Linked DNA regions of Homo sapiens: region 2 is linked to region 1. Evidence: promoter capture Hi-C in human tissues and cell types (Jung and others, 2019). All regions are on one chromosome and are shown on one strand. Each heading gives the region's core, a stretch centred on a gene start or on the middle of the fragment in contact. The rest is flanking DNA. Distances are from core to core; before and after follow the strand shown. Region 1 holds the start of GMCL1 (germ cell-less 1, spermatogenesis associated). Region 2 overlaps ANXA4 (annexin A4).

Region 1 (4,479 bases), core at 785-3,284:
TCGAGGTAGAGTGAGTCATGATCCCACCACTGCATTCCAGCCTGGGCGACACAGCGAGACCCTGTCTCAAAATAGAGAAAAATTTTTCCAAAGGAAAAAAAAACTATGCTACACTGACGCTTCAAAAAGGTTACAGGGTCAGGCATGGTGGCTCACACCTGTAATCTCAGCCCTTTGGGAGGCTTAGGTGGGAGGATCGCTTCAACCCAGGCGTTTGAGACCAGCCTGGGCAATATAGTGAGACTCCTTTAGAAAAAAGCTCCAAAAATCAAACAAACAATTAAAAAAGTTACTGAATAGTATTCACAGTAGGGGTACATTTTTGTATAATAAATACAAATATTCATACAAAAAAAGGTACAAAAGGTTTTATAAACCAAACTATTAAGTTTTTAATCTATGATTCCTTTTTTACAATATATAACACTTGTATAGCAAAACCTTTTTGAATCTGCTTTTAAAGTTTAATTTTAGGCCGGGTGCGCAGTGGCTCACGCCTATAATTCCAGCACTTTGGGAGGCTGAGGCCAGCAGATCACCTGAGGTCGGGAATTTGAGACAAGCCTGGCCAACACGATGAAACCTGTCTCTACTAAAAACAGAAAACATTAGCCAGGCGTGGTGGTGCGCGCCGGTAGTCCCAGCTACTCGGGAGGCTGAGGCACAAGAATCGCTTGAACCAGGAGGTGGAGGTTGCAGTGAGTTGAGATCGCACCACTGCACTCCGGCCTGAGTGACAGAGCAAGGCTCTGTCTCAAAAAGAAAAAGAAATCATTTAAAAAATTTCATGTGTGACCCTACCAAATAACCTTTAAAAACAAAAGCAGAAAAACCAAATTGTTTGTGTAAGCATATATTCTACCTATAAACTACATTCCAGGTCACAAGTCAATATTCCATCTTTCAACTCATCCAAAAAAAAAAAAAAAAGGGGTTAAACAAGCTGCAGCAGCACCGCCCTACATACAGTACATCCACGGTCAACGACTTCATCAACTACTAGAAACTTGCACAGACTCTGTTCCTAGTTAGGAACAAATGTACACTATTGATAAACTTCACCTTTACAATTAACAAGAACTCCTGTGTGCAATTACTTACCCTCCACTGAGTGGGCGACAATAAGAGTGCCTATTTCAGAGATTACATTTAGTGTCTGTACTAAGGCAACCGGATGCAAAACAACTTACTCTGCGGCTACCCACTTGAGAGGGCAAAGGTGGACTGGGAAGGCCAGCCAGCCGGGCGTCTCTAAGGTTTAACGAGACGCGAGCTCGGGCTTGGCGTTTCTCATCCTCATCTTGGGGCTGTAACAACACCCTGGAAGCGTCTGTGGTTGAAAATGCGGAACACCTGGCGTCTCCCAAGGCGCTCCCCAGTCCGCCCCGCATCGGGCCGGCTTCCACATTCACCCTGTCAAGGGCACGTCCCCTCTCCATAGGCTGGGGAGCGCTGCACCCCGCAAGCGCACGAGGCGCCGGCTCGGCCCCAGGCCCAACAGGTGCGGGTCCGGGTCCGCGCGGGTGCGTGCCCCCACGTACCTTCGAGGGGTGTTGAGGAGCCGCTGCTGCTCGTCCCCCTCCTCCTCATCCTCGTCCGTCTCCGAGTCAGGGTGACAGTAGCAGAAGGACCCGCTGCTCCGCTTGCGCTTGTGGCTGCCCGCACAGTAACAGAATCCGTGGCCCGCCGCATCGTCTCCAGTGTCCGGCCTCCGGGCCGAGCCCCCCGCCCTGGCACCCTGCGCCTGCTGGGCAAGGGCTGGTCTTGGCTGGCGCAGCACCCGGCTGCTCAACGATCCCATGGGTCACGGCTCCCCGAGACTTCAGGGAGCCCAGAGAAGGGGGTCTCCCGCCATGGCTCGGCCGCCGCCGCCAGCCTTCCCCGAGCGCAGGTGCCTACACCGCCACCTTCTCACGCGCAGCCCCAACCGTTGCAGCGGACGCCACAGTCTCCATCCTCTTCCCCGCCCGCAGCGTCCGGTCGCGCCGCGCTCTAGCACCGCAGCACCTCGCCCCCTCGCTTTCGCAACAAAGCGCGGGACGGAGGGCGCATGCGTACGGCGAGCCTCCGGAAGGGGCGGGGCAAGGCGTGCGTGCGTGGCAGGTGGAGCCTGCGCACAATCCGGCGCGCCAGTGCAGGCTGGTGTTTTCGGGCCTGCGGTGGGCGTGGCCTCTGACTAACCCGAACTTCGGCGTAGACGTAGTGTTAAACCGTGGTTCATACGCGCCTCTGTAGTGGCAAGACCTGGGACTCCAGTCACTCATTGTTTCTACAAAGGTGCCTTGAGTCCCCGGTGCTTATGGGCCTGTGCTAAGCTAGTGGCAAAACCCCGAAGCTATTTGGTCTCCTTGCGGGAGCTCGGCGCTTGCTGGGGCCACGCTCTGCTTGCTTGGGCGTGGCCTCCTGTGAGAGGGGGCCCTAGGATGAGGCGATATGCTGGATTCCTGGGCTTCCTTAACATGAGCCCTCCCCTGCTGTAGACGTGAATGGAACCCGTTAAGTTATGGGAACGTTCCCGGCACTCCTTTCCTTTCCTCTCAAGTGCCAGTGGGATGTCCGAATAGGGTCTGGCACCATGACTGTCTGGACTCAAAAGTGCCTTCAGGAGGCCCTAGCAAAATTTACTAGTGTCTGCTTGGAGTAGTAGCAGCTCTTGTGATGGACTCCGGACAGCCAGCGTTCATTCCCTGACTCCCTTCTGTTACTTTTTAAGTAAAATAATGAAAATATTTCAAATAGAGTAATACAGATTCCTGTGGACCGACCACTAGCTTGAAATTTTATCAGACTTGCTTTCATTCTTTTTTCCTCCCAGCTTTATTGAGGTGTAATCAATGATTCATTCTTTTTTAAATAGAACAATACATATAGGCAGAAGCCCCTGCGTACCTCCTCCATCTCATTCTGTCTCCCTCCCCAGTGGCAATCACTGTGCTGAGAATGTTGTATATCATGTCCATGCATGTCCTTATATGCATACCCATAAATAATATTTTCTTTTGCATGTTTAGACATATCATGGAATGGAATCATAGTTGTACCTCTCATTGTGCACCTTTCTCCTCTCTCAAAATTATACTCTCAAGATTTATCCATTTGGTCAATCGCTAGATAATTTTCACTGCTCATTGTATGACTGACCCATATTTGTTTTTACATTCCTTAGTGAGAGAGGTTATTTCTACTTTAACGGCCTTACAGAGCAGCAATGAACATCATGTGCAATGGATTCACCAAGCAGATTCCCAAAAGTGAATTTGCTGCGAAATCTGCAACTTTGTTAGCTATTACCAAATTGCTCTCTGGGTTGATTGCATCAAGGTACCAATTTAGACTCCCATTGGCAGTATACGTAGTTTGAGGGTCCCCGTGGACTAATGTCTGATTCATGCATGAGAAATCTGAACCGAGAGAGGCTAGCCGAGGCAGCTTGGGGTGGAGGTGGGAGGCGGAGAATAATGGCTGCAGAGGGATCAGCTTGCATACACAGAATTTGCCAGCACAAAGAACGTGCAGGTGTTTCCCATGGAGCAGATGTGGACCACCATGAGACAGCTTAGGTCCTGCCCAACAGGCCTGGGAGGAAGGCAATGAACTTCAGCACTGAGAACCTCAAAGAGTCACCAAATTCCTAGAGGCTGAAAAAGGAGTACACATTTGCCTTGCCAGAGGAACCTCAGGTGAGTAGCGTGATGAGGTTGACAAAGGAACCCACAAGAATGCCCACAAGAATCAACTTTAGTCTGTCAGGGTCACATAGGGCTGATCCTCTACCACCACAGCAATGACAGTCAGGTAACAACTTTCCTGCTCCCCTTAACTCTCTTCTTTGCTACAACCCAGACATGGTAGGTTGGGGCAGGGGGAGAACATTGAAGGAAACCTAGGTGGAAAAAGAAGAGAAGCCCATGGTCTCCCTTTCCCCAGAAACCAGCTTCCTACTTGCAATAGGCCAGAGGTGAGTGAGGGAAGAAGCATCAACTGTAAATCAAGCTTGCAATTTTGACTGGATATATTACTTACTAAAATGACACTGTTTTATGACCTTAAGGGACTACACAGTAGGACTTTAAAACCTAAGAGTGAACAGAAAAGTCATGACTCTATCTGAATTTACATCTGAAGAAGGGGAAGAACTGCCCACTGAATAAATGTAAGTGGACAGTGGGAGGGAAAAACAAACATAATTATATCTCAAAGTCATGCTAATTCAATATGACAAACATTCGTCCAGGGTGACTTTATCCCACCTTCTAGAAATCTTCTGGTGAATCAATGCTATTTGTTTTAAAATTTTGGCTAAGCTACATATCATTTAAAGATAAAACTTCTACCAAAAAAATCACCATGCTTCCAAAGACAAAGCTGATGTGGAGATTCTGTGGTCTTCTGGGAAGGCATTGAAGTGGTAGTATTATTTCCTGTAAGTAACTGGAGTGACTAAATATTCACATAAGTAGCTTCTACCAGTAGCTGTAG
Region 2 (4,764 bases), core at 671-3,170, 39 kb after region 1:
AAGGGTAAAATTTAACTTTCTCTCTTAACACGGGATTTTCATGGAATAGAAAAGGCTAATGAATGGTTTTTGCTTTTTCAAATTTCTGGCTCAACATTTTGGCAAAAACAAAAACTTTTGGTAATCTAAAATTCTATTTCATAATATCAAGTGTTTTAAATTTTAAATATACTTAACAGGCTTCCCAAAGTCAAACTTTAGTCTCAAGTCTGTCTTTCCTAACCCCTGGCTTTTGGGTGCTGCAGAGGACCCCTGAAGCATCTAGAAGAGAGGTAAACAGTATTATTTAACATGTTGAGGTACATAAAATTGCCAAAATGATGTCTAATACTCTTCAGGTTATACTTTAGGGAATAATATTAACATGTGTTCCAAAACTGTATGGGATGTCTATGGTTCTAGTGTCTGAATATGTGCTATTACAATTAAGGTTGTTATGCTGGGTTTTTGAAAAACACAAAAATAACCAAATTTCTTTGTCAATTGTATTTCTGACTGTATCCAAACTGGACATTTTGTCATTTACAGACAATTGTTGTTTTGTTTTAATTCTCTTCAAAAGATGGTTCATAATCAAGCCATGGGACTTTAACAAGTTCTCTCCAATGCAGGTTTGTCATGACCAAAAAATGTATGGGACTCATAAAAGGCTAAAATGTTTATAAATATCAAAACAAAAGTTAATGGAATGAACTGAACTAATAGAAAACTAAAGCAATATTCTTCACTTATTCTTAGAACACGGCTAATCCTTATTTTATTTTTTAGAGTCAAAAAAACTTGTCTTAAGCTAGCTACAGCCTTTGATAACTAAGCAAAGTGTACTACTATAGGCAAAGTTTGGAGCATGTTTATGTCTCTCTGCCTAATTCCTGTAGAATTTGGAAACTAGTTATAAATATTCTTAAATTACAACAATATAGTTGTTTGAATCAGTGCAGCAAGAATCCATTTTCTCTTGCAACAAAACACAATTGGAAAAACTGGTTGTTTTACCAAGGCTTTGACTAGAAGGGTATATTTCCCTTTAAGGAATCAAGCTTAACTTGCTGAGCCAATAAAAGCCCCTGGGGAAAACTGGCCTCATATCTGTCTACACAGTCTCCATACAGGGTTCCTGACCTGCAGTGAGTAAAGAATGTCACTTTCTAACAGGCCTAGGAACCCCATGCTTCTGGAACCTCAAGAAGGAAAAAAATTTATCCAACTCACAGGTATTTAAAAGTACAAACCTATGGCTGGGCTTGGCTTTAAAAAGTCCTATCTAAAATTCCTCATGGAACAAGGTTCCATCAAAGCCAATCTAAGAGGCTTATGTAAGGATGATTATTCTTGCTGTACTTTATGCAAATAATTAGGCCAAGTATAGGACTGAAGTCTGTTTTGCAAACAACTCAGTCCTATCATAGATTATTTTTAACAAAAATGAGGACTAGAGAAAGAGAAATTATGTTTTAAGACTTATCATACATCTGTTATTAACCTGTAGTCCCATCAGTTGTTTTTAAGTTCTTGCCTACATTTTAAACTAACCCTGCTTACTCCTGTCAACCAACCAGGAATCTCTGGCTGCAGCTCAGAGAAAACAGAAAGGCATCGGTAATAGAAAAATCTGGAAACATGTTCTAGTTCTGGGCAATTATCCTACAAATCCTGCCAGGTAAACTAGAACCCCAGGGTTTCTCCCTTTTTTGGGAAAGTAAGACCAAGGAAGCTAAACAAAGCCAAGCCCCATATACCCACTTACAGCAGCACAACCCATCTGAATGGCTCACAGGTATCAAACAAACTCTGTTGTCATGGTTACGGCCTATAGTGCCCCCATTAATAATAGTAATCTTAATACTCATATTTAGAACCTATATTCTAAACCTCCTTGTGAAGTTTATCTCTTCTCGCTTAGAAACCATCAAGCTTCAGATGGTGCTGAAAATGGAGCCGAAAATGAAACTGCCCTCCTACGAGGGACCCTTAAATCAACCCCAGGAGGAGCCCTAGCTGCTGTTCCCCACACAACGCCACTCTCCAGCAGGAAGTAGCCAGAAGAAATCGTCACCCAGTTTCCCCTAGCAGCAGTTATGGATTTCATTCCTGAGGGGGGAAATATGTTATAGGAGGCAGAAAGAAATGATTTAGGTAGACATTTAGGGTAAAGTGAGTCCCCAGCAGAAAACTTTCCTTTTAACAAAAAGCAGCTCAAAAATAGCTCCCTTTCTAACCTCATGCAGTTCAAAAAAAAAGCACTTCTCTTCTAACAACAAGCAGCCTGAAAGTTCAGGCTGTAAAACACAGAGAAGATGGCTTGAGCACAGAAAGGGAGGGGGAAGTCTCCTGGGTAATCACCAAACTTCACATTTACACAGTGGGCCCCAGTAAAACAGTGGGTCTTAATAAGCATATTCCTTCCCTTTAGGCGCAGTAAGATTGAGGAGCTAAAAACAGACTTGGGTGGATGTCTGCAGCTGCAAGAAGATGTGTGGGAACAGACACAGAAACTCTCCCTCCCAGATAAGCAAGACAAAGAAACACAGAATAAGAGTCCATCTATGTGGTCAGAGAATGGGATAAGAGCTGATTTAAAAAAACTCTGCTCTATATAGAAGGCACACCTGGTCCCAACCAAACCACTGGACCCTAGGAGGATAAGACCTCCTCTGCTCATGAGCCCCCTCCTCAGTAGCCCATTTATAAAAACCCTGACAATTTTACTACCACTTGGCAACCCGCTCGGGACCCCTCTCTGTGATGGAGAGCTGTTCTTTTCTTTTGCCTATTAAACTCCTGCTCCAAACTCACTGTGTGTGTGTCTGTCTGCAACCTCAATCTCCTTGGCCATGACACCAAAAACCTTAGTATTTACCCCAGACAACAAGGCTGCTTCACCAGCCTTCTCACATTAAATTCCACACATTGCATGTCGGTGCTGTCACAGCTGTGTCTATCACCACAGCAACAAGCAGACGGACTCAAGGCAAGAATGTGGACTTAGTGCTGATGACCCCGAGCTTGAGATGGGATCTGCCTAGTGTGAGCCATGGCTCAGTTTCACTCACTGTGCGACTTGGTGAGAGTTACTCGGCCTCTCTGGGTCTCAGTTTCACATCTGTAAAATGGGGCTAAAATAACAATAGGAATAGCTGCTTTCACTAAATCACAGGTTGTTGCATATATCCAATGAGATAATGTCTGTGAAACTGCTTTGTAAATCTGTGGCACCATATACACACCAGCACTAATTGGAAAACAAATACATTTCTAAAATTTAATATGCAGATTCATGATGTCGTAATTCAAAGCAGGTTTAAACAATAGGGGAAATCCATAATGAGTATATTAAATTTATCATTCTTTATTAAAGTGAAGAACTAATGCCCCTCCCCATCCAGTTTGTCCCAACTTATCTCAACTTGTTCCATGTGTTTTCTTTCCCTCCCTCCCTCCCTCTCCTCCTTCTTTCCTTCCTTCTTCCCTTCTTTCCCTCTTTCTTTTTTTTTTTTTTTTTGAGATGGAGTCTCGCTCTGTCGCCCAGCCTGGAGTGCAGTGGTGCAATCTCAGCTCACTGCAAGCTCCACCTCCCGGGTTCACGCCATTCTCCTGCCTCAGCCTCCTGAGTAGCTGGGACTACAGGCGCCCGCCACCACGCCCAGCTAATTTTTTTGTATTTTTAGTAGAGACGGGGTTTCACCGTGTTAGCCAGGATGGTCTCGATCTCCTGACCTCGTGATCCACCCGCCTCAGCCTCCCAAAGTGCTGGGATTACAGGCGTGAGCCACCGTGCCCAGCCTCTTTCTTTCTTTTTTGAGATGGAGTCTCACTCTGTCTCCCAGGCTGGAGTGCCATGGCGAGATCTCAGCTCACTGCAACCTCCACCTCCTGGGTTCAAGTGATTCTCCTGCCTCAGCCTCCCAAGTAGCTGGGATTACAGGTGTGTGCCACCACGCTTGGCTAATTTTTTTATTTTTAGTCTAGATGGGGTCTTGTCATGTTGGCCAGGCTTGTCTCGAACTTGTGGCCTCAAGTGATCTGCCCACCTCAGCCTCCCAAAGTGCTGAGATGACAGGCATGAGCCCCACACCCAGCCTCCCTTGTGTTTTATTAAAGGAAGACCCACGTGATGGCCAGCAGACATGGCACCCTCCTGTGTGACCCTGTGATGTGCAATGCACGCAGGAGGATTCACTTCCAGCAGGACACATACCGAGCCCTTTCATGGCCTTCCTCAGGGTCTGGGCATCTTCCATGGCATTGAATCCTGAAGCAGCTTTGACAGTACCTCCTTTGGTTGCCTGAGCACACAAGAGAGTGATGTTACTGAGAGGCAGCCTCTCACCAACACGGAGGCATCTCATTCGGCAAACATTTGTTGAGCACTGACCATAGCCTAGATGGTATTCTAGGTGCTAGGGGTACAGTAGTGACCATGAAAAATTAAGCTCTTGCTCCCCGGGACTGATGCTCTAGCTCATGGGAGGCAGACAGTAAACAAGCCAACAATTCACAATTCCATAAAGTGCCTAGGGGTGAGCATTGCTGTGAAGCAGATAGAGAGGTCCTGCAGGACCCATTCTGAGGAGTGACATTGAGGTTAAGAGCTGAATGAAATGAAGCAGCTGCTCATGCAAAGATGGAGGCAAGGGTTACAGGCAGAGGAAACAGCTCCTGCAAAGGTCCTGAGGCCGGAACTAGTTTGTAGGGAAAGCAGGACAGAGGCCAGTGTGGCTCAAGTTGGTGGGCAAGGAGTGGGGGGAAGACAAACTACACCAA

What was found. Contacts are between HindIII fragments. The study calls those that stand out against the background at their distance.
Region 2: a fragment that was not itself captured here is called in contact with the fragment with the promoter of GMCL1 in region 1 in 1 of the 25 tissues and cell types used here (aorta).

What each region holds. Positions count from the first base shown.
Region 1 is chr2:69,827,215-69,831,693 of GRCh38, reverse strand. GMCL1 (germ cell-less 1, spermatogenesis associated) reads right to left here and starts at 2,034. Exons shown (of 14, transcript NM_178439.5): 1 at 1,542-2,034. The coding sequence starts at 1,801. It overlaps LOC124906021 (a long non-coding RNA gene), which reads left to right and starts at 2,163. Exons shown (of 2, transcript XR_007086846.1): 1 at 2,163-3,680. RefSeq lists silencers at 1,370-1,545, 1,493-1,572, 1,953-2,182 and enhancers at 1,156-2,076, 2,593-2,682, 2,077-2,998. The HindIII fragment of the contact is 8,350 bases long and covers 1-4,479 here.
Region 2 is chr2:69,787,576-69,792,339 of GRCh38, reverse strand. ANXA4 (annexin A4) reads right to left here. Exons shown (of 13, transcript NM_001153.5): 3 at 4,199-4,286. It overlaps SMANTIS (SMARCA4 interacting SWI/SNF chromatin remodeling complex scaffold lncRNA), which reads left to right. Exons shown (of 3, transcript NR_164155.1): 2 at 1,904-2,075; 3 at 2,414-2,791. Among named protein-coding and RNA genes, the nearest start is that of SMANTIS, 9.0 kb to the left of the region's middle. The HindIII fragment of the contact is 4,638 bases long and covers 1-4,239 here.